Linked DNA regions of Homo sapiens: regions 1, 3 and 4 are each linked to region 2. The links are contacts of gene promoters, found by promoter capture Hi-C in blood cells and fetal thymus (Javierre and others, 2016). All regions are on one chromosome and are shown on one strand. The core of a region is centred on a gene start or on the middle of the fragment in contact, and the rest is flanking DNA. Distances in the headings are between cores, read along the strand shown.

What was found. Contacts are between HindIII fragments. The CHiCAGO score rates a contact against its expected background, and 5 or more counts as called.
Region 1: a contact is called between a fragment that was not itself captured here and the fragment with the promoter of ANOS1 in region 2, in 4 of 17 cell types (M0 macrophages, M2 macrophages, naive CD4 T cells and 1 more). The highest score is 6.8, in M0 macrophages.
Region 3: a contact is called between a fragment that was not itself captured here and the fragment with the promoter of ANOS1 in region 2, in 5 of 17 cell types (M0 macrophages, total CD8 T cells, M2 macrophages and 2 more). The highest score is 10.0, in M0 macrophages.
Region 4: a contact is called between a fragment that was not itself captured here and the fragment with the promoter of ANOS1 in region 2, in 10 of 17 cell types (M2 macrophages, naive B cells, M0 macrophages and 7 more). The highest score is 11.4, in M2 macrophages.

The regions. Positions count from the first base shown.
Region 1 is chrX:8,039,229-8,044,460 of GRCh38, reverse strand. The region is part of intron 1 of LOC107985675 (a long non-coding RNA gene); the gene reads right to left. Among named protein-coding and RNA genes, the nearest start is that of MIR651, 85 kb to the left of the region's middle. The HindIII fragment of the contact is 1,129 bases long and covers 1,675-2,803 here.
Region 2 is chrX:8,730,681-8,735,931 of GRCh38, reverse strand. ANOS1 (anosmin 1) reads left to right here and starts at 3,795. Exons shown (of 14, transcript NM_000216.4): 1 at 3,795-4,102. The coding sequence starts at 3,896. The HindIII fragment of the contact is 4,315 bases long and covers 1,852-5,251 here.
Region 3 is chrX:7,968,575-7,973,459 of GRCh38, reverse strand. All of the region lies in intron 1 of LOC107985675 (a long non-coding RNA gene), which reads right to left. Among named protein-coding and RNA genes, the nearest start is that of PNPLA4, 44 kb to the right of the region's middle. The HindIII fragment of the contact is 205 bases long and covers 2,215-2,419 here.
Region 4 is chrX:8,009,892-8,014,451 of GRCh38, reverse strand. All of the region lies in intron 1 of LOC107985675 (a long non-coding RNA gene), which reads right to left. Among named protein-coding and RNA genes, the nearest start is that of PNPLA4, 85 kb to the right of the region's middle. The HindIII fragment of the contact is 997 bases long and covers 1,047-2,043 here.

The DNA.
Region 1 (5,232 bases), core at 990-3,489, 690 kb after region 2:
ATTACACATTCTATGCATGTATCAAAATAACACATACACCCCATAAATATGTACATTATGTATCACAAATAAACAAATAAAAATGTCTAGGTAATCAGAAAACAACCTACAATGATAATAATAGTAATAAATCCCATCCAAATACCTGCAGACCTCAGGCCTCCCCTGTGTGCTGCTCCTAGATCCTCAGTTCCTAGGCTGCTTGACTCTGTCTACTTGAGTGCATCGCAAATGGAACCATCCTCTTTCCTAAAAATGTGCTGCTTCTTTCCAACATTCTTGGCCACACTACAATTCTGCTGGGCTGCTAGGAAACGTAGAATGTGTGACTATCTTTGATAGTTCTATTTCCTTTTTCTTCCGTGAGCACAAACTTGCTCTATTATCTAGTAAGGTGCAAGATATTCTAATATCCCTTTGATTGATTCTTTCCAATTTTTCTGAACAGACTATTCATTTTTCCTGTGTCTAGAGATGCTGCCGCCTTACCCCACCTACTCATGCCGGAAGCTTGAATGAGAACTTATTTCATTTCCTCTTCTCTCCAGCCCTGAACCTCTGCTTGTCTTTCAAGGGCTCTTATAATTTCCCTGTGATTCCCTTAATGTACCTTCCATTCCAGTGACAGCTTTCTCCTCATTATAATGCCAATCCTTCCTTTTTATACTGGGAAGACAGGTTGCCTCATGCCTTTGGTATAAGGCAATTTCCTGTCTCTCACGTTAGTCCCCATTACATCTGCTCTGAAAAATCGTTTTGTTTCCAGAAGCTCTAAACATATTTCAAAGCCCTTTAAGTTCCACCTCCATGAGGGTGTCATTTCTGATTAGGTGAACACTCTCCTGTCCTCCTATTGAAATCCTATGGCACTACCCTCTATAGTACTTGAATGCACTTGAATTTAGTATGCCACCCAACAGCCACCCTCCCCTTCCTCCTTATTTCACAACCATGACGTTGAGGATGACAATGTATCCAATTAAAATATGCAGCTTCCCAGATTTCCTTGCAGCTGGGGGTAGCCATAGGAAGATGAAGGCAGACCTGCAGATGTGTGTCTTTTTTCTTGAGACCCAGTTTCTACCTGCCTACATCTTATACCTAAGCTCGGAGGTACAGGAGTCATCATGCAAGAATTCCCAGTGGCAGAGTAGGAAAGTTCTAAGGCCCTAAGTCATGATCAGCAAAGCAGCCTCAGGCTACCTACATCCCGAGTTCTTGTTATGTGAGAAGAAAAATAATCTAAGAAAAATAATCTATCAAAGCCCTACTCCTTGAAGCAGCTCTGGCTTCATACTGCTGTTACAGCTGGTATGCTACAATATTTTGGTGCTGTACAACAACTGTGTATTGTTACCAATGTCATGTGTTTTTAATTTTCCATCCTCAACTATGAGAACTTATGAAAATCAAAAGTAAAAAGAAACTAAATGAATATAGCCTTTCTAGACTATTTTCTTCAGGTTCACTTTCATCCATCAACTCAATATCTTGTTTTGCAAATTGTGTTCTCCAACATCTAAGAGTTCAGAAGCTAATAAATGACACCTCTGAATAGTGACAGTCATTAAGTTAACCATCTCACTTAGCTTCACTATAGGAATTGCACATTTTGCCACAATATGTGGACAAAACTGCCAGATTAACCATATATCATTATCAAACGCAGAAGCTTAAGTGGTCCAGATTGTTTTTGGCAATCTAGTTAGACTTATTCATTTTAACCTGTGTATTACATTCTTTTCACCTTATGACTTGGCCCTGCGCCCTTTCTGATTCTGCTCTTTCTAGTTTGGGATAAGGGACTGTACTCACTGTGTACCAAATTAGAGCAGGTATCATATTATGTGCAGGGCTCAATCTAGTTGTCTGTGGATGGGTTTATTGTTCCTTCAATGGGCTGTGAACTAACCCTTTTCCACTTTTCCTCTCCTCAATGCAGCCTCCTAAGGAGAACATGGGTACTGCAAGTGAGTCAGCAGTGGAAACTTAGAAGGTCTCATCAGTAAAGGCAGGACAGGACAGAAGGAGGCCTTGGGGCCCTTTGCTCTTTCATGATTTTCAATGGTTTCCTCTCAATAGTCAAGAACTGCTGAATGTGTCAGGAGAGAATGCTTGGGAGGGATGAAAGACATCCCTATAGGCCTTCATTCCCCTGAAATGCAATCCTTTTGTCACCTTCGCAAGAAGAGCTCTTTGTAGAAGAGGGCAGGTGTCATCGGTCCTCTCCCAATGGAGCCTTTAATGCTGCCCAGCTCAGCCACGGGATCTGCCTGTTTACTGATCCCTCTCTGATAAGGGCTGTCGATAAAGGGGCACTGTCCTTGCAGGACCTAATGAGGAAGCCTGCTCAACCACACACCTGTCACCCCGTATTCTGAGCCAGAGTGGTGCCTGCTGAGCAGGCAACCGGCTCAATGGGTGCAGTGGCCCATGACTGGCGCTCAGTGAATGGCTTCACAACCACCCTGGAGACTTCTTAGGTTTGACAGGAGAAAGCAGACAAAGGAGAGAATGGGCTCATGCATTTGCAGCATGGATCCATATATTGGACTGCAAACTCAAGAGAAACTCAGAAACATACACACAAACACACACACACATAGACCAAACACACTCAACAACAATGGGATGCGTGCTGACCTCTGCACTGAAATACCATCAACTTAGTCATAAATGAAATCATTAGAATTATCACAAACCACAGCCTATACAATTTAAGTATCTTCCATTGCATTGTGTACATATGTGTGTGTGTGTGTGTGTGTATTTCAAATAATACTTGATTTAATCAAGTTAAGCTTGATTAAGACAGGATAATAATGTGAAAACTGAAGAAAGATATCTGTGTTCAAATCATCAGGTTTTATTTGCAGAAAGGGGGTAGAAAATTAAAACCCAAGTTATTACTCATAACTATACACTTTTAACAAAGAATAATTAAAATGTATGGTTCTGAATTAATCCCAGATTAACTGACTGGCATCAGTAATAAATTAGCTATTACTAATTACCCTGCCACATATGTAAGTGGCCCCACAATTCCCCAGCACAACAATGGGCTTTAACAAATCTTATGGCATACTGGTGTGCCGTGCACTACATAGCAGCATTTCACATAGAAGCAGGGGAATTCCTTAATTTCCTCTCATGGGGAGTTCTCACTCGGGAATAGCTTAGCCATAGTTTCACTTGTTTACTCGCACTCTGATTAGCTGACATCCCTTCCTGTCTTCATAAAGCATCCAACTTGGTCTTTGAAAGTGTCTAAACTTGTCTGAGACTCAGATTTTTACTTTTAACAAGGGACTATTTAGGGTGTTTAAGGGGCTAACATCCAAAAGCTGTCTTCATAGTAGACATTTAAATATTAAATAACAAACTCCCATTATTCACATACTATGTATAGAGTTTAGGTCATTTTATAAAAAATTAAGTCTATTTACAAAATTCACAGATAAATTTGGTGTCTAAGCAGTAGAGTAAAATTCTATGTTTCTTTGAACACATTAGCTATGTTAATCCACCTTATTTAACTCCAATTCGGTTTCCAGTGATTCTAGTGTTATGTAGTAAGTATTTTCTGACAACTGCCACACTTGGGTAATCAACAGCCTTAGTTAAATGGATGTCTTTTGCAAATGTTAGTGAAAGCTATGCCTTGATACTGAGGGAAGACAGGAAAACCTGAGAGTTTGATAGAAGACGTCCTATTCTGGCCTTTGGACTGTTGAGTTTTCTATAGAAAGCAAAATAAAAAGAAATCCCAAACGTCAGAAGACAAACCCATCAGACTTTATAAGTATTTCAGCATTTGGGAAGCCTTTGTCTTTAAGAGGCTCTGCTTGAGGTGCTATAACTTAGAGAAGGAAAAAAGGATGAAAGAGATAAAGAGAGGAAAAATACTATTTATCTCATCTTCCTCATAATTGCCTTAGAGTTAATTCATTTATGAAATACAGAAATTGCAGAACATATTTCCAGAATGTTATCTCTAGGTTTCCTTTTCCTATAGTCAATTTAATTCAATAAACATCATTTCCAAAGCTTCATGTACATTTTGAAAACTTTTATGTGATTCCCCATAATCATTAAAGCTCCCTCAATTTAGTCTTAATTTTGTAAATGATTCTTTAAGACATTTTACTGTTTCTCAATCCATTATTTTGCCTCAAACACAAATTATTTTTATTTTTTAATTTTTTAAAAAACCTGATAACATATGTACCTTGAATTCACCTTTTCTTCTGTATGAAAATTTTAAAAGATTAGAAATCCCTTTTTTTTTCTTTCAAACACATATTTTTATAAAACAACACTTAACCTGGACAATTTAGGGACTTTTAGAAATAGTTATTACAAGGTATTTTTGAGGTCTCAAATTCTAAGACACAGTCCTTAATCTGAGAAGTATTTAAGTATTGATGTGAAGAATTGATCTTACCTTACTATTCTACTGAGCTACTAAGATTTGACACGAGGCTGGGCATGGTGGCTCAGGCCTGTAATCCTAGCACTTTGAGAGGCCAAGGCGGGCGGATCACCTGAGGTCAGGCATTAGAGACCAGCCTGGCAAACATAGCAAAACTCCATCTCTACTAAAAATACAAAAATTAGTCAGGCATGGTGGCACACATGCCTGTAATCCCAGCTACTCAGGAGGTGGAGGCAGGAGAATCGCTTGAACCCGGGAGGCGGAGCTTGTAGTGAGCTGATATCTCGCCACTGCACTCCAGCCTGGGTGACAGAGTGAGACCCTGTCCCCCCCCACAAAAAAAAAAAAAAGGAAAGATCTGACATTGGAGAGAAGATGGAAATATTATTGCAAAGATATATCTTAATTCACAAACACAAGGGTGTAGGTAATTGAATCACCATTATTTTACATAATTTAATTTCATATTTATTCCTATATTTCATGGAGGTGATAGAATGGGTTAGCTTCAATTTTTTGTGTGCAGGAGGGTAGTGGGGGTACATTCATCCTATTTTCCCAAGGTTCTCTTAAGTTTCTAGAGCTTACATTCTGGGACTTACATAGTAACAAAAAAAGTGGGTGTCAGATAGCTGTTAGAGGGAGAGTTTATCAGTCAGGGTTCCACCATAGAAACATACCACTACAATATCAATACTGAATATACAGTATTGATACCTATATCTATATTTAAATCTAGATCTACAGGAGATATAGATAGATGGATAGATAGATATGATTATATATATGCTATTTAT
Region 2 (5,251 bases), core at 2,546-5,045:
GGGATCATAGGCATGAGCCACCGAGTCGGGCTTCAGATGTACTTTTAAAATCAATTATCCCTCAAAGTGTAGTCCCTGGTTGAATTTGTATAGAATCACTTGGGGTATTATTTAAAAGCTGACATTTCAACCCTCCACCCCGGATATACTGACTCAGAATCTCTCAATTTAGGGCCCTGGAGTCTATGTTTAGTAAAGATTTCAGGTGTTTCTCATTCTCTGCAGAAAAACAGGAAAAAAAAAAAGAAAGAAAAGAAAAACCAATAATTAAAATACAAGGAAAATAATAATTTTTGGAAACTGTGAAAGAGGGCTTTATTTTGTGTGATTTCTCCAGAACCTGACCAAGACAACCACACATTTTGGTCTATCTTTGTTCATGTAGATATAAATAAGAGATAATTAAGGTGCTTTTCTACTCTCTTTGTTAAATGTGTGTTTGTCTATTTAAGTCAAACCAAAGTCAATGTGAAGTTAAATTCTTCTCTAGACAAATTCGGATCATGGGGGTCAAGGAGATTTGGAGAAAGACATACTAAGTACCGTCTTACTAGCTGCACCCGAGGGTCCTACCCCTTTATCCATCATTTCCTCAGCATACTCTTAGGGTTCTCCTCCCCTGTGGTTGGCTTTCATGAACTTAGATTGTGGCTTACCTGGTAATGTCAAAAGTCAGAGAACTTCCATGTTTCAGTTTGCAAGGTGAGCTGCATAATAAGTTGGGCATACATGGGCAGAATGAAAACAAAACAAAACAAAAAAACACCGAAATTTGACTGTTATTCTGACTTTACTAGAATGCTTTCCTTTTAAAAGTTACTTTAAGCTGCAATTAAAGTAAATAATATGAGAAAGGCCTGCGTAATCACAGAGGATGTCTGTGATTATTCTAAAGGAAGAAAGCAATATAACTGCAAATATTATTTTAACATATTTATAATAAGGTGGCTCTATATGTTTAAAACCAAGTTTTCTGTTAAACTGACTGTTCTCCTTTGTGGTTTATTACAAAACGCATTTATTCATAGAAATGAATATGCTATGGAACCCATATAAGTAGCACACACACTGCTTTTTAAAAAAAAAAAAAAACGGCAACCCCTGTGAACATCCAAAGGCTGTTTTTAAAAGCTCAGCATGCTTGTCCTTGTGATTTCACTTTCTGGAATATGCATTTCATGATATGACATGCAAAATTATAAATCAAAGTTACCTAAGAAAATGTCGGTGTACATAATATCTTTGCCTTCACCAAGACCACATATTTGCTTAACTTTAAAATTCCAAACAGGCCAGGCACGGTGGCCCACGCCTGTAATCCCAGCACTTTGGGAGGCTGAGGCAGGCAGATCACGAGGTCAGGAGATCGAGACCATCCTGGCTAACACGGTGAAACCCCGTCTCCACTAAAAATACAAAAAATTAGTTGGGCGTGGTGGCGGGCGCCTGTAGTCCCAGCAACTCGGGAGGCTGAGGCAGGAGAATGGCGTGAACCCGGGAGGCGGAGGTTGCAGTGAGCCGAGATTGCACCACTGCACTCCAGTCTGGGTGACAGTGAGACTCCGTCTCAAAACAAAACAAAACAACTCCAAACAAACACTAGGAAAGGATCCCCTACAGCTTTTGGAAATGTTTTTAGTAATTCACAAATGAAAGTGACAACATTTAGAAGACAATCTCGGTATTCAGACATCATTATTTATTGACACTTGGCTTTATACACATGCCTGCTTGGGGTCATTATAGTTAGCTTCTTTACTCTTCGTTAATATTATGTTTAACATACTTAAAAAATATTTCCATTTGCAATTCTGAGCAATTTTAAAACAAATCATTGAAGTCGTGTAAGCTTATGCCAAAATTACTAGGTTTCCAGCCCAAGTAAAGAGTGGCCCCAACCTTTTTGGCACCAGGGACTGGTTTCATGGAAGACAATTTTTCCATGGACCTGGGGGTAGCAAGTGATGGCTTGGGGATGAAACTGCTCCATCTCAGATCGACATTAGATTCTCATAAGGAGTGCGCTACCTAGACATCTCGCATGCATAGTTCACTATAGGACTGAAGCTCCTATCAGAATCTAATGCTGCCACTGATTTCTCACCTGAGGCACAGCTCAGGCAGTAATGTTCCCTGGCCTGCCGCGGCCCAGTTCCTAACAGGCCACTGTCATTGTGAAGAGTTTCAGGATGGTGATGGCAGAACAGGCCTTCTAAGAGTGCGACTGTACCATTGTACAGCTTGCATGTCCATGAAACTGGCTTTGCCTATAGAACCTTTTGAACAAGATGACCCTGATTTTCTAATTCGCTGAGAAACACACCAAGGCCAATTAATTTGACTGGCCTTTCTGATTTAAGCTATGTGAAGAAATACACATGTAAGATGATGTATTTGAAAAGCACTCATAATAGGATAGCTGCAGATGGCTGTCATTGCAATTTGTTAACAGGCAGATCTCAAAATTGCAGAGTGGAACCTGTGTATAAGAATAGGGAAAAGGGTGGGAAATTGCAAAACAACTATATAGGCTTTGTGCAAAGAGGATTCCAGCCTTCTGATGTAGCTTTGAGTAGAGCGAGTGCATCTAGATACCCTGACTGTGCTTAGCTGGGTGCTTATAGAGATCCCGTTTTCGAAGGTGAAAGTGCAATTGGGTAGGAGAGGGTGGAGATGTCAGAGCAAAGGAACAGCAGTCAGTTGTTGTCCATTCGAATAGGAGTGTGCCTGGGTCTTTTTTCTCTGGGCTCTCCTACCTGCAAGGGGACTGTCACTTCCTGATGGGGCTCAGGGGAGTGTAGAGCTTTGTTACAAGTTGTGTCTTATCAATGCCTCCTGTCTTTCTGTGGCAGGATCCTGGCTGGGGAGGGAGAATTTGTGTGCTGAGAGAACACTAGACAAAAACGACAGGAGAGGACGGAGCAGCCATTCCAAAGCTAAAAAGCCTGAGTCAAGAGGCTCGGGCAAATCGTGGGGAAAGAAAGAGATTAAGACGCAAGTCTATTTAGAATAAATCACTCACTTTGGGGCGTGCAAGGCTTACTAGAAAAACAGACACCTGAGGAAACAAGGCGTGTGGACCTAAAGGTGGTTAGCTATGCACTGAGACTGTCTCCAGGGAAAACAGTGCGGGAGGGAGGGAGGGAGGGATGCGGGAAGGACGGAAGAAATGCAAGAGGGAGAGAAGGAGGAATTTGTCTCCGGGACACTGTAGGGCAAATGTCCACGCTCCCCTCCCCGTCTGTCTTACTGCCATTTGTTTTCTTCACTTCTTTCCACTACCTGGGCAAAGGAAATTCGAATATGTGAAAGCGTGGGAAAAGCCTGGACCCAGGGGAGGTCGGGGAGAAAGCAAGCCACTTAGGGGCGCGGGGTCAATCCCCAGGCAGGTGGGACGCCCCTGGGGGTCCTGAGGCCTCTTCCCTCCTGCTGAAGGGAGCACCCCTCCTGGCAGGCCTGGACCTGCTCACACCGACGTTTACCTGGACGGAGGGGGAAGGTGGGAGGGGCAGGAAGCGGTTGGTGCGAACGGGAGAGGCGCCTGCGTGGGAGCTGGGCCCCTCGAGACCTGCGCGGCGTGGAAAGCCGCTCGGCGTCGCCCTCCCCCGGAGCGCCCGGGCTCGCAGCTGACGAGACCGGCCCATGGGCCCTGCGCCCGGCCCCCCTGTCACTCACACGCCTTCCAGCCAATGGTGCGGCCTCCTGTCCCCCTCACCCCACCCCTCGAGGGCGAGCTGGGAGGGAGGTCGGCGAGGAGGGTCCGGCCGGAGTTGAAGGATTGAACTTTCCGGCTCAGTCGCGGCGTCTGCCTGGTCCTCAGCAGTGCAGCCCCGGCGCGGAGCAGGGAGCCTCGGCCCGCGCCCGGCGCCCTCGCCCTCGCCCTCGACCCGCAGCCATGGTGCCCGGGGTGCCCGGCGCGGTCCTGACCCTCTGCCTCTGGCTGGCGGCCTCCAGCGGCTGCCTGGCGGCCGGCCCCGGCGCGGCTGCTGCGCGGCGGCTGGACGAGTCGCTGTCTGCCGGGAGCGTCCAGCGCGCTCGCTGCGCCTCCAGGTGCCTGAGCCTGCAGATCACTCGCATCTCCGCCTTCTTCCAGCACTTCCAGGTACGGGGAGGCCCCCGCCCGGGTTCTTTCTGGGGCTGCGGCCGCGGCGTGGGCGCACCGGGGCGCGCGCCTCCCAGCCTGGGCTCGCAAAGTTCTCGGCCAGCGCCGCCGGCTGATCCTGGCTTCCCCTGGGCGTGGATCTTACAGTCGGGGTGCTGGAACTCTCCTTTCCAGCCTCTTCCCGGCTCCTGAAAAGAAAAAGAAGCCCGAGACATCTTGCCCCAACTCCCTCCTTCCCAGCAGGAAACCAAAGGCGATTTCCCTGGGGAGGGAGAGTCGTGGATGCTGGGAGTGGGTGTGTGGATGTGGCGGTTTCCCGGGAATTGGAGTGCGCGAGACTCCGGGCGGGCGGCGACTCCCGCAAAGTCCCAGGCGCTCCGGGGCACTGGGAGGGAGTCTGGGAGGCGCGTCCGGCTGCGCCTGGGGACCTCACCTCGAGCCCCAGCCCCGCAGGTGCCCGCGGGCCGACACTTTGTCTCTTTTGAAAGATGGTTTTCACTCTCTGAGGGCTCAGAGCTCGCTGCCCACCCTTGGAGCCCCAGCCAGGGTACTTGTGCCAAGTCGTGTTCCAGGGTGCGTGTATGCGCGTGTTGGGGGTGCGAGTGGCTGTGCGCGCCTCAATTCGGAACCCCAAAGATTCAAGGTCTTGCCCTGGACTAGCGTAGAGCGTCAGGGAAGAAGTGCCGGGGACAGGGGATTTGGCGGGGCCGTATTCGGATACTCCTCAACGAGTCCCGGGGGAACCGTCCCCCAAACCCCGAACGTAGGTTCTTTCAGCCTGAGGGTGGGGAGTATGTGTGTGTGCGCGCGCGCTTGTGTGGGAGGCTCCGGGAGCCGCGCGCTTGGCTCCAGCGGGTTGCCGGGACTCTGCCCTGTGGCGCGGACCCCCGCGGGACTTGCGCGAGGCTCCGGGTGCGGGTGGGCGCACGAGAGCAGGTTCCGGACTCAGCGCGAGCGAGTGCAGCTGCTGCCTGTACCAGCCCTGTCGAGCGTGCGAGCTCTGAAATCCTCCGCTTATTTTTCTCTTCTCTCATCCTTCTCTCCTTCTTCTTCTCGCCTCTATCCCTAGGTGCCCACCTGTTCCAAGTTCCCAATTTCTCGCTTCAGGGAAACTCTGGAGGGACCAAAAGGAGAAATGGGGGCTGGGGG
Region 3 (4,885 bases), core at 1,068-3,567, 760 kb after region 2:
GAGGAGGCGGTGTCTAACTTACATAGGACTCAAAGATTGGTTGGACCAGGTGTGATGTTTATATAGCACGCAAAGAACCTGGCTGCCCCATGCTAATCTTTTTATTATGCAAATGGGTTTTCTAGTGGGCTAGTGAGTGCCATGTTGTCTGCTCCCTACTGCACATGTGGTTGGCAAGGAAAGGGGAAGATGGAGCCACCATGTTGGACATGCCTAGCTTCCAGGTAGCCTTTTCCTATTAGCACAGCTGCCGGCATTCACCCGTGTAAGCTTCCAGCTTGGTTATCTATGTCTGCAGCTCAATTTTACAGGCTGCTCTCTGTTAGAAAAGAAATTATTTGGGGGCTTCTTTTCATTAAAAGGGAAACCTTACCAAGGCTGGTATCAAACCATGGGCAGAAGTAGCCATAAGGGCAATCTCAGATGAGCACCCAAATTTGTAATCTCCCAATAGGTTCACCTTGCCTGCTACCCAGACAAAGTCGATCTCTCAAGATGGGAACTGCAATAGAGAAAGAGAAATTCACACAGAGCCAGCTGTGCAGGAGATCAGAGTTTTATTATTACTCCAGGAGCAGAGTCTTTAAGGAGAACTTGGTGGGTGGGGTGAAGCCAGTGAGCCAGGAGCTCTAATTGGTGAGGGATGACATCATAGGGAGTTGAAGCCGTCCTCTTGTACTGAGTCAGTTACTGGGTCAGGGGCACAGGATCAGATGACCCAGTTTACTGATCTGGGAGGTGCCAGCTGATCTGTCACATGCAGGGTCTGCAAAATATCTCAGGCACTGATCTTAGGAGCAGTTTAGGGAGGCTCAGAATCTTGTAGCCTCCAGCTGCATGACTCCTAAGAAACAATTTCTAATCTTGTGGCTAATGTTAGTCCTACAAAGGCAATCTAGACCCCAGGCAAGAAGGAGACCTCCTTTGGGAAAGGGTTGTTATCATCCTTAGTTTAAACTATAAACTGAGTTTCTCCCAAAGTTGGTTCACCCTGAGCCCAGGAATGAACAAGGACAGCTTGGAGTTTGGAAGCAAGATGGAGTCGATTAAGTTAGATCTCTTTCACTGTCTCAGTGATAATTTTGCAAAGGTGGTTTCAGGGGCAGAATTGGAATGGGGACAAAACAAAACAAAACAAAAATTCCAATTAATTATACCCTGTATTATACAAACAGTGAAAAAGAAAAATAAGGACAATGAATGTAGAGTTCAGGAAAAGATTTAGTGCATTTTTACACCCTTTTCCTATTGCATTTTCTTCATTTGGTTTATATTTTGCTCTTTCCAAGTTAGATGCTTGCTTATTTTAGTTGCTCTACATAATACCTGCTTAGTAAGCAGTCAATAAATATCATTGAAATTGACATTCCAAAAGACCCAAGTCCTAACAAGAAATCTCAAAAGAAAGGAAAATAAGTCCACAAACTGTCATGATAATCATGTGATATAATAAAATATAAAACCGTAGCAAGTACAGTTTGCCATAATTTATAGAATGGGTATGTTCCCAAGCTGTCGAAAGCTAACACAGTATTTTGAAATCATAGAACAAGACTTCACAAAATTCCCTGATAAAAGTAAGTGTGGATTTGAAACTGCTTTTGCAAAAATTATAACTGAGGAAATTATGACAGTGAAAGAAATCAGACCTAACTGGCCCCATCCTGCTTCTAACCTTTAAGCTGTCCTTGTTCATTCCTGGACATAGGCCGAACTAACCTTGGGAAGAAATTTAGTTTCTCATTTAACTCTGAAACAAAATTGATAATGGCCCTTACCCAAATAGACCCCTTCTTGTCTGGGGACCAGTCTGCCTTTGTAGGACTAACAAAGTAGCTTTAAGATTATAAATTACTGTTTAGGAGTCATGCAACCTCTTGCTTCAAGTGTCTGAACCTCCCCAAATTGCTCCTGGAGATAACACCACTATTGTAAAACCTAAGATCAATTCTTGAGATATTTTGCAGACCCTGCCCTTGATGGATCAGCTAGGTCCAATAATGCAGGAATAATTAAGGGAAAGGTAAGATGGGGAGTGGATGAGCTCAGATCTCTTTCACTGTCATAATTTTCTCATTGATATAATTTTTGTAAAGTCAGTTTCACAATTTGTGGAATGGTCACTGTGCAACACATTATGCCAAGTATCCTTGGCTGCATTCCAAGATAAAAGGGTAGAAAGAATGGAAAGAACAGTTACAACTTCAGAAAGCTTCAGTGTTCATCAATGGGCAAGAATCCCTGTGATAAGAAAATGCTGTTACATTCTTTAAGTGATGGTCCTAGATCATGATTTATGTGAATTATGCCCTTTCAGTGCTTTCTTCAGCTTTTACCTAGAGATTCTGTACTTTCTAGTTTATAGTGGTTTTAGTAATCTCTGTTTAAATGGAGTCACACAAAACCATTGAAGAAAGCTTCACTGAGATGTTTGTTTCCAACATTTTTATTTCCATATATTTTAGGTTTAAACAATCTGATGCATTTTATCAGTATAGCTAGCTCTTTAGTAACCTCCATCACAACCATTCTTTAACATGTGCGATCTCTGTCTTTCGATCTGTCCCTAACTTCACTTGTATAACAAATCTTTAGGATCGCAACACCGAGAGAAGTTGTACAGTGCTATTCTAATTTGGGCTTATTGACTTACAATGCAATTTCATTCTATTTAACACATGCTTTCTTTGATTGGGCTGGTTGTCACCGGGAAAAACTCAGATTTACGTATTTTTAAAGTGAACCTGACAAGTAATTCTAATCATGGAAGAATTACCAACTTTCTCCTGAAGGTAACTTGTACAAGATTAAGCAATGTTCTCATGCTGACAGGTCACCTGATGATGCAATGATTAAGTTTACGCTTTTAACCCCTTTAGGACATTAATTATATTCCTTTGAACTTAGCCCCTTCTCCTTTTAATTTCTGTCATGTGCCCAGAAAAGACAGTTCTATTTTGCTGTGTACTGCAAAATCAAAAAAGGTTTGAGTCCAGAAATTTCATAGTACACAGGAAGTACAGAACTCACGTCTCCAAAATCCAGGTATATTCTCCTTAAAGGCCTCCTAATCTCATATGCCAAACCATCAATTGAAAAGTTCATATAAATACAAATATGGCTAAAATCATATAAATGCATCACATACATGCTCTGTGCATTTATGCCGCATGCTGTATTTTGCTTCCATTATTTATTTTCATTTCAATAGCTTTGGGGGTACAAGTGGTTTCTGGTTACATGAATGAATTGTACAGTGGTGAGGTCCAGGCTTTTAGTGCATCCATCACCCAAATAGCATACATTGTACCTAACAGGTAATTTTTCATTACCTCCTACCATTCTCTCCTCTTCTGAGTCTCCAATGTCTATTGTACTACTCTGTATGTTTTTGCATAGTCACAGCTTAGCCCCCACTTGTAAGTGAGAACATGTGGTATTTGCTTTTCCATTCCCGAGTTACTTCACTTAGGATAATAGCTTGCAATTCCATCCAAGTTGCTGCAAAGGGTATTATTTCATTCTTTTTTCATGGCTGAGTAGTATTCCATGGTGTGTGTGTGTGTATGTGTATAAAACACACTTTCTTTAGCCACACATCAGTTGGTGGGCACTTAGGTTGATTACATATCTTTATAATTGTGCACTGTGCTACGATAAACATATGTATGTGGGTTCTTTATTATATAACGACCTCTTTTCCTTTGTATAGATACCTAGTAGTGGGATCACTGGATCAAATAGTAGATCTACATTTAATTCTCTGAGAAATCTCTATATTGTTTTCCATAGAGGCTATACTGATTTACACTGCTACCACCAGCATATAAGTGTTTCATTTCCACCACATTCATGCCAACAGCTATTGTTTTTTGATTTTTTAATAACGGCCATTCTGGCTGGGGTAAGGTGGTATGTCATTGTAGTTTTAATTTTCATTTCCTTGGTGATTAGTGATGTTGAGCATTTTTTCCTATGTTTCTTGGCCATTTGTATATCTTCTTTTGAGAAATGTCTGTTCATGTAGTTTGTCCAATTTAATGGGATTATTTGCTTTTTTGCTTGCGGATTTGAGTTCCCTATAAACTCTAGGTATTAGTTCTAATATGGTTTGGCTGTGTCCCCACCCAAATCTCATCTTGAATTCCAACATGTTGTGGGTAGAACCCAGTGGGAGGTAACTGAATCACGGGGGCAGGTCTTTCCCATGCTGTTCTCGTGATAGTGAATAAGTCTCATGAGATCTGGTGGTTTTAAAAAGGGGAGTTTCCCTACACAAGCTCTCTTCTCTTGTCTGCAGCCATGTGAGATGTGCCTTTCACCTTCTGCCATGATTGTGAGGCCTCCCCAGCCATTTTGTAAACTGCCCAGTCTTGGGTATGTCTTTATCAGCAGTATGAAAATGGACTAATACAAGTTCCTTATCAGAGGTATAGCTTGCAGCTATTTTCTCCCATTCTGTTGGTCTTCTGTTTACTGTGTGAATTTTTAGCTTATAATGTTTATTTATCTATTTCTTCCTCTATACTAACAATGGGAGCACAGTTTCTACATTCTGAATAAGATCATGGAAAATCTACAATGGGAAGAAGATTAAAGGATTGGTGCAGTTGTCAGAGTTGAATTCCAAAACCTACCGACTGGCTGTGGAGCTGTTTAGATGTTCAACGCATCATCTTAGTTTCCTTACTTGTTCTGCATGCACTTCAGATGCTATTTCTAAAATTATATTTGAAACGAGATTAGTTGTTAGATTTTGCTATAGCATTAGTGGGGGCAGTGAGTTATACTTCTATAAAACATGTTACATTCTTATAATTAGAAGGCTCTTGTTATTTTGTATAGCTTAACCTAGCCCACTATGAAAATGTACCGATGTGTTTGC
Region 4 (4,560 bases), core at 296-2,795, 720 kb after region 2:
TGTGCAAACCACCCACTTTGGGGTAGGGTTAGCATGGGCAGGTCCCACTGTGCTGGATCCTATGGTCCAAGTGACTGGATTAGAAGTAGATTCCAAGTGACTCAAAGGAGAATAAAGAATTCCGTTAAAAAATCAGAATACTACAGAAGTATTCTAAAAGGATATTATTTTTGATATACTTTCAAAAACCACAGAATTATAATGACGGAAAGTTAATTTTCTGGACTGCGCACAGTGACTGACAACATGATCTTTGGGATTTTGGCTGCCAGAGCCACCACAACTGCACAATCTACAATCTATGAACAGAGTGATGCTGATCTCCAGGTCTCTCAGGCTGAGAAAACGCCATACATTTCATGAACCAGAAGTCATTTCGAGGCAGGGAGAGAACATTTGAAAAGAAGGCAGTAAAATAAGGCATAAAACAATGATGGAATTTTCCAAGACACTTTGGTAGTGTAAACCTGTGACAACCAATCCTGAGGACGAGAGACTTTGCTACTTCCATCTGCAAATCAGCTGAGATTTCTGGGTAAATGATAATTTCTTGGATATTATTATTGCAAGGTGGTTCTGTTTTGATAGGTTTGGGAAAGGCACTTGGGTTGTAAATTCTAATTTAGGGACAATTTATAAATACAATTAGTTCATTGTTTATTTCTCAATAAATAGTAAGGATTTTATTATAATGTGTTAATTTTCCCATCTTCAGGCAACCCCAACTGTTTTTACTTGATATGAACTAATAAATTGTATTGCCATTATTTAATTTCTATCTTAAACATGTACAAAATAATAGCTTTTGGATGCACAGCCACTTTAAAAATTCACATATTTGGCCGGGCATGGTGGCTCACACCTGTACTCCCAGCACTTGGGAGGCCGACACAGGCAGATCAGCTGAGGTCAGAAGTTCGAGACCAGCCTGGCCAACATGGCAAAATCCCTTCTCTACTAAAAATACAAAAATTAGCCAGGCCCGGTGGTGTGCACCTGTAATCTCAGCTACTCAGGAGGCTGAGGCAGGAGAATCACTTGAAGCTTGGAGGTGGAGACTGCAGTGAATCGAGATTGTGCCACTGCACTCTAGCATGGGCAAAAGAGCAAAACTCCATCTCGGAAGAGGAAAAAAAAACACATATTGCTTACAAGACTATAATTCTGCACTAAATATCATAGCTTATCTGCCAAAATTTACAGTATCTAACTCAGAAATACTGTTCCCTCGAGACAAATTGGATCTCAAATATTTCTGCTGAATGATTTATTGTATTTCAGATCATGGAGAACAACCAGGATTAAGCTAAGGCCAGGACCTTCATGGAAAATAAAGGTTAGAATACAGACTCTAACGTAAAAATTCCAAACCTGAAGACCCAATGCAGGTTCAAGGCAGGGAACTTTGGATCAGAAAGTTTAACCCCTGAGAAGGGGTTAAAGGAAGAGAATTGGTGGAGAGGAGGAATCATCTAGGGTAACTGATGACAACAAGACAGCACATTTGAAATTCACCTGTATAGGCAAGAAGTTGCAAGGCACATAAAAAAGTTGGATTGGCCAGAAGGAAGTAGACAGTTCTGATCCATCCATGCCTTGCCATGTGTTATCTGTGTTTGTTTATGAAGGTATCCACTCATTTATCCATTTATCATTCATTTAATAGTAACTTATTGAAGTCATCTGTGAGAGAATTCTTGCAGAAGAGAACATCTGGCTTTTAGTATCCAATATACTTTTGGATACTAACTTTGTATTCAACTTTCCCCTACTTTGTAAATACCAATAGCTCCTACTATTCACTGAGTGGTTACAAATGCTAGAAACTGTGCTAATAACCATGTAATGTAGATATCACTATTTCCTATTTACATATGTGGAAACAAGTTTGAGAAAGCAATGTGCCCAAAATTACAGAGCTACTAAAGAATGTAGCCAGGCTTGGAAATGATTCCAGCAATTTCTTATCTCCTACCAAAATGTCTCTGAAAAATAAGAAAGACAAAATCTCACACCACCACTAAAACCTCTTTCATAAAAGCTTTTTGATTTGACCACTCCAATTCTCAGGGCAGGCAAGAAGAATTTCAACTCGCAATAAGGATGATGGAGGTTTTAAAAAGAAAAAACAAAAAACAGTGCAATCAACCTAAAGCCAAGTGAAATCATGTGGCTATCATGGTAATCTAATAATTTGGTGTACCTTCGAAATATGTTATCTAAATATCTGTCCACTATTTATTAAATGGAAGCAGAGAAAATACTTTTTAGGCAAATAGCATAAATCTATTATTCTGTGTTCAATATAAAAAATGTATTTCAGGCAGGCAACATAATATTCTAACTTACTTGGTAGGATCATACTAGGTTAATCACTGATTCTCATTAAGAATAAAGTTTAGGCTCTGTGAAACTGGAAGTATACATTAAATATAACTCAGTGTAGGAGGTGGGGATTAATTAAACTACCCTAGTCGAGAGAGAAAGAATTTTGCAATAGACGTTACCAGGAAACTTGGTTAAAATTTTGGGTAAAATAAACAGATTTAGAGTTTTATATCATATCAAACACAAATTTTAAGCCCAAAATTGTTTAGAGAATTTAATTAAAACTATGACCCATAGGAGAAAAAAATAGATAAGTATCTGATCTTCTTGAGGTGAATGATTTTTAAGCATTTAAATAGGAGAAAAAGATTCATTTTCTGTCATAATTATATACTTATATATAATTATCCCATATATTTATATGTAATTATAAATATATGTAAACTTTTCCAGACATTTATAAAGGTTATCTTAATCTTTTGAGAATTAGAAACTTAACCATCAATCCCACTAGTGGATGTATATTGAAAGGAGGTAAAATCAGTATGTCAAAGAAATATCTGCCCTCCCATGTTCATTTCCACGTTTTTCACAATAGCCAAGATATAGAATCAACTTATGTGTCTATCAGTAAATGAACATATAAGGAAAATGTGGTATACATACACAATGGATGTGATGTGATTTTTCTCAATGGAGTATTGTGTATATATACAATATGTTGTGCATATATTGTGTATATATATACAATATGTTGTGTATATATTGTGTATATATCTACAATATGTTGTGTATATATTGTGTATATATACACAATGGGGTAATTCTGTAATGAAATTCTGATTCAGCCTTAAAAAAAGAGGAAATGTCTGTAATGTGCAACAATATGGATGAATCTGGAGGGCATTTTGCTAAGTGAAATTAGCCAAGCACAAAAGGACAAATACTGAATGGTTTCACTTATGTATGGAATCTTTAAAAAGTTGAACTCATAGAAGTAGAGAGTAGAGTGGTCATTATTAGTGGTTAAGGGGAAGATAGGGTTTGGGTTGGGGAGATGTTGGTCAAAGGATTCAAAATTTCAGTTAGGCAGGAGGAATAAGAGACCTACTGTACATCATGCTCACTATATAACAATGTACTGCATACTTGAAAATCACTGAGAGAATAGATTTTAAGTGTTCTTACCACAAAAAAATAAGTATGTGAGATCATACATATCTTAATTAGCTTGAGTTAGCCATTCCACATTGTATACATATTTCAAAACAACATGTTGTACATGATAACATACATACAATTTTTATTTGTCAATTTAAACATGGATTTTTTAAAAATATTTAAAAAAACAGAATGAGAACCTCTAGCAACACTCTCAGGCATGTTTTTCACAAAAGTGAATTGCACTCTTAACCTTGGGAACCAGTTGTCTTTTCCTGTGTCATGTTTGTGTAGTTCACTCACACTAGGATATACACCCTTCTTGGAGGGATCTGTCTTGGTCATCTTTGGATCTGAGGCAAAAAAACAGCTTGGTACGTCATAGGTGATTTTTATTAGGTTGGTGCAAAAGTAATTGCGGTTCAGGTTTAGAAAAAGTCCTTATCTCTTTTGTTTGTTTCAAATTTATCTTAACATTTTGCTAACAGTCCCTCTCAGAGAAGCCCCATTCCTATGCTTTCCTGGAGCCTGCTTCTTTCTCTCAGGCCTTGGTTAGTAGGCCCTCCTCTCCACACCAGCATGTGAATCTTTTAAGAAGCCTAAGCGCCAATGCTTTTTCTAGAGCTCCGCTAATGATCTGACTTTTCCACTCCCTGCAGTTCCTCCCAAGTCCTGTAGGCCTTTTTATCAGTGGCTCTTTTACTCCTTACCAAAAATATTTCCTCATTCCTTTTTAACTCTTGAAATGGAATCGAGAGGGAGCATAGATGACCTACACGTATTATTATAAACATTACAGGAAATAAGGCCCATTGCAATATAAAGCAGAAATAAAGACAATATGATTTATGTTACATTTTAAAATATGTAAATGTTAGGGCACAATGGCACTCGAATGCAGAATAAGGTTGTTATATGCTTGCTCCTATTAATAAGAACAATCTCTTCAAATGAATAATATGTTTTTTTTTAAAATGGATATTTTGAAAACAAAAGTGTATTTGTGCATAGTTGTAAATGTGCCATAAATACATAAACTTCACCTGCAGCCTGACGTATGAATATAGACCA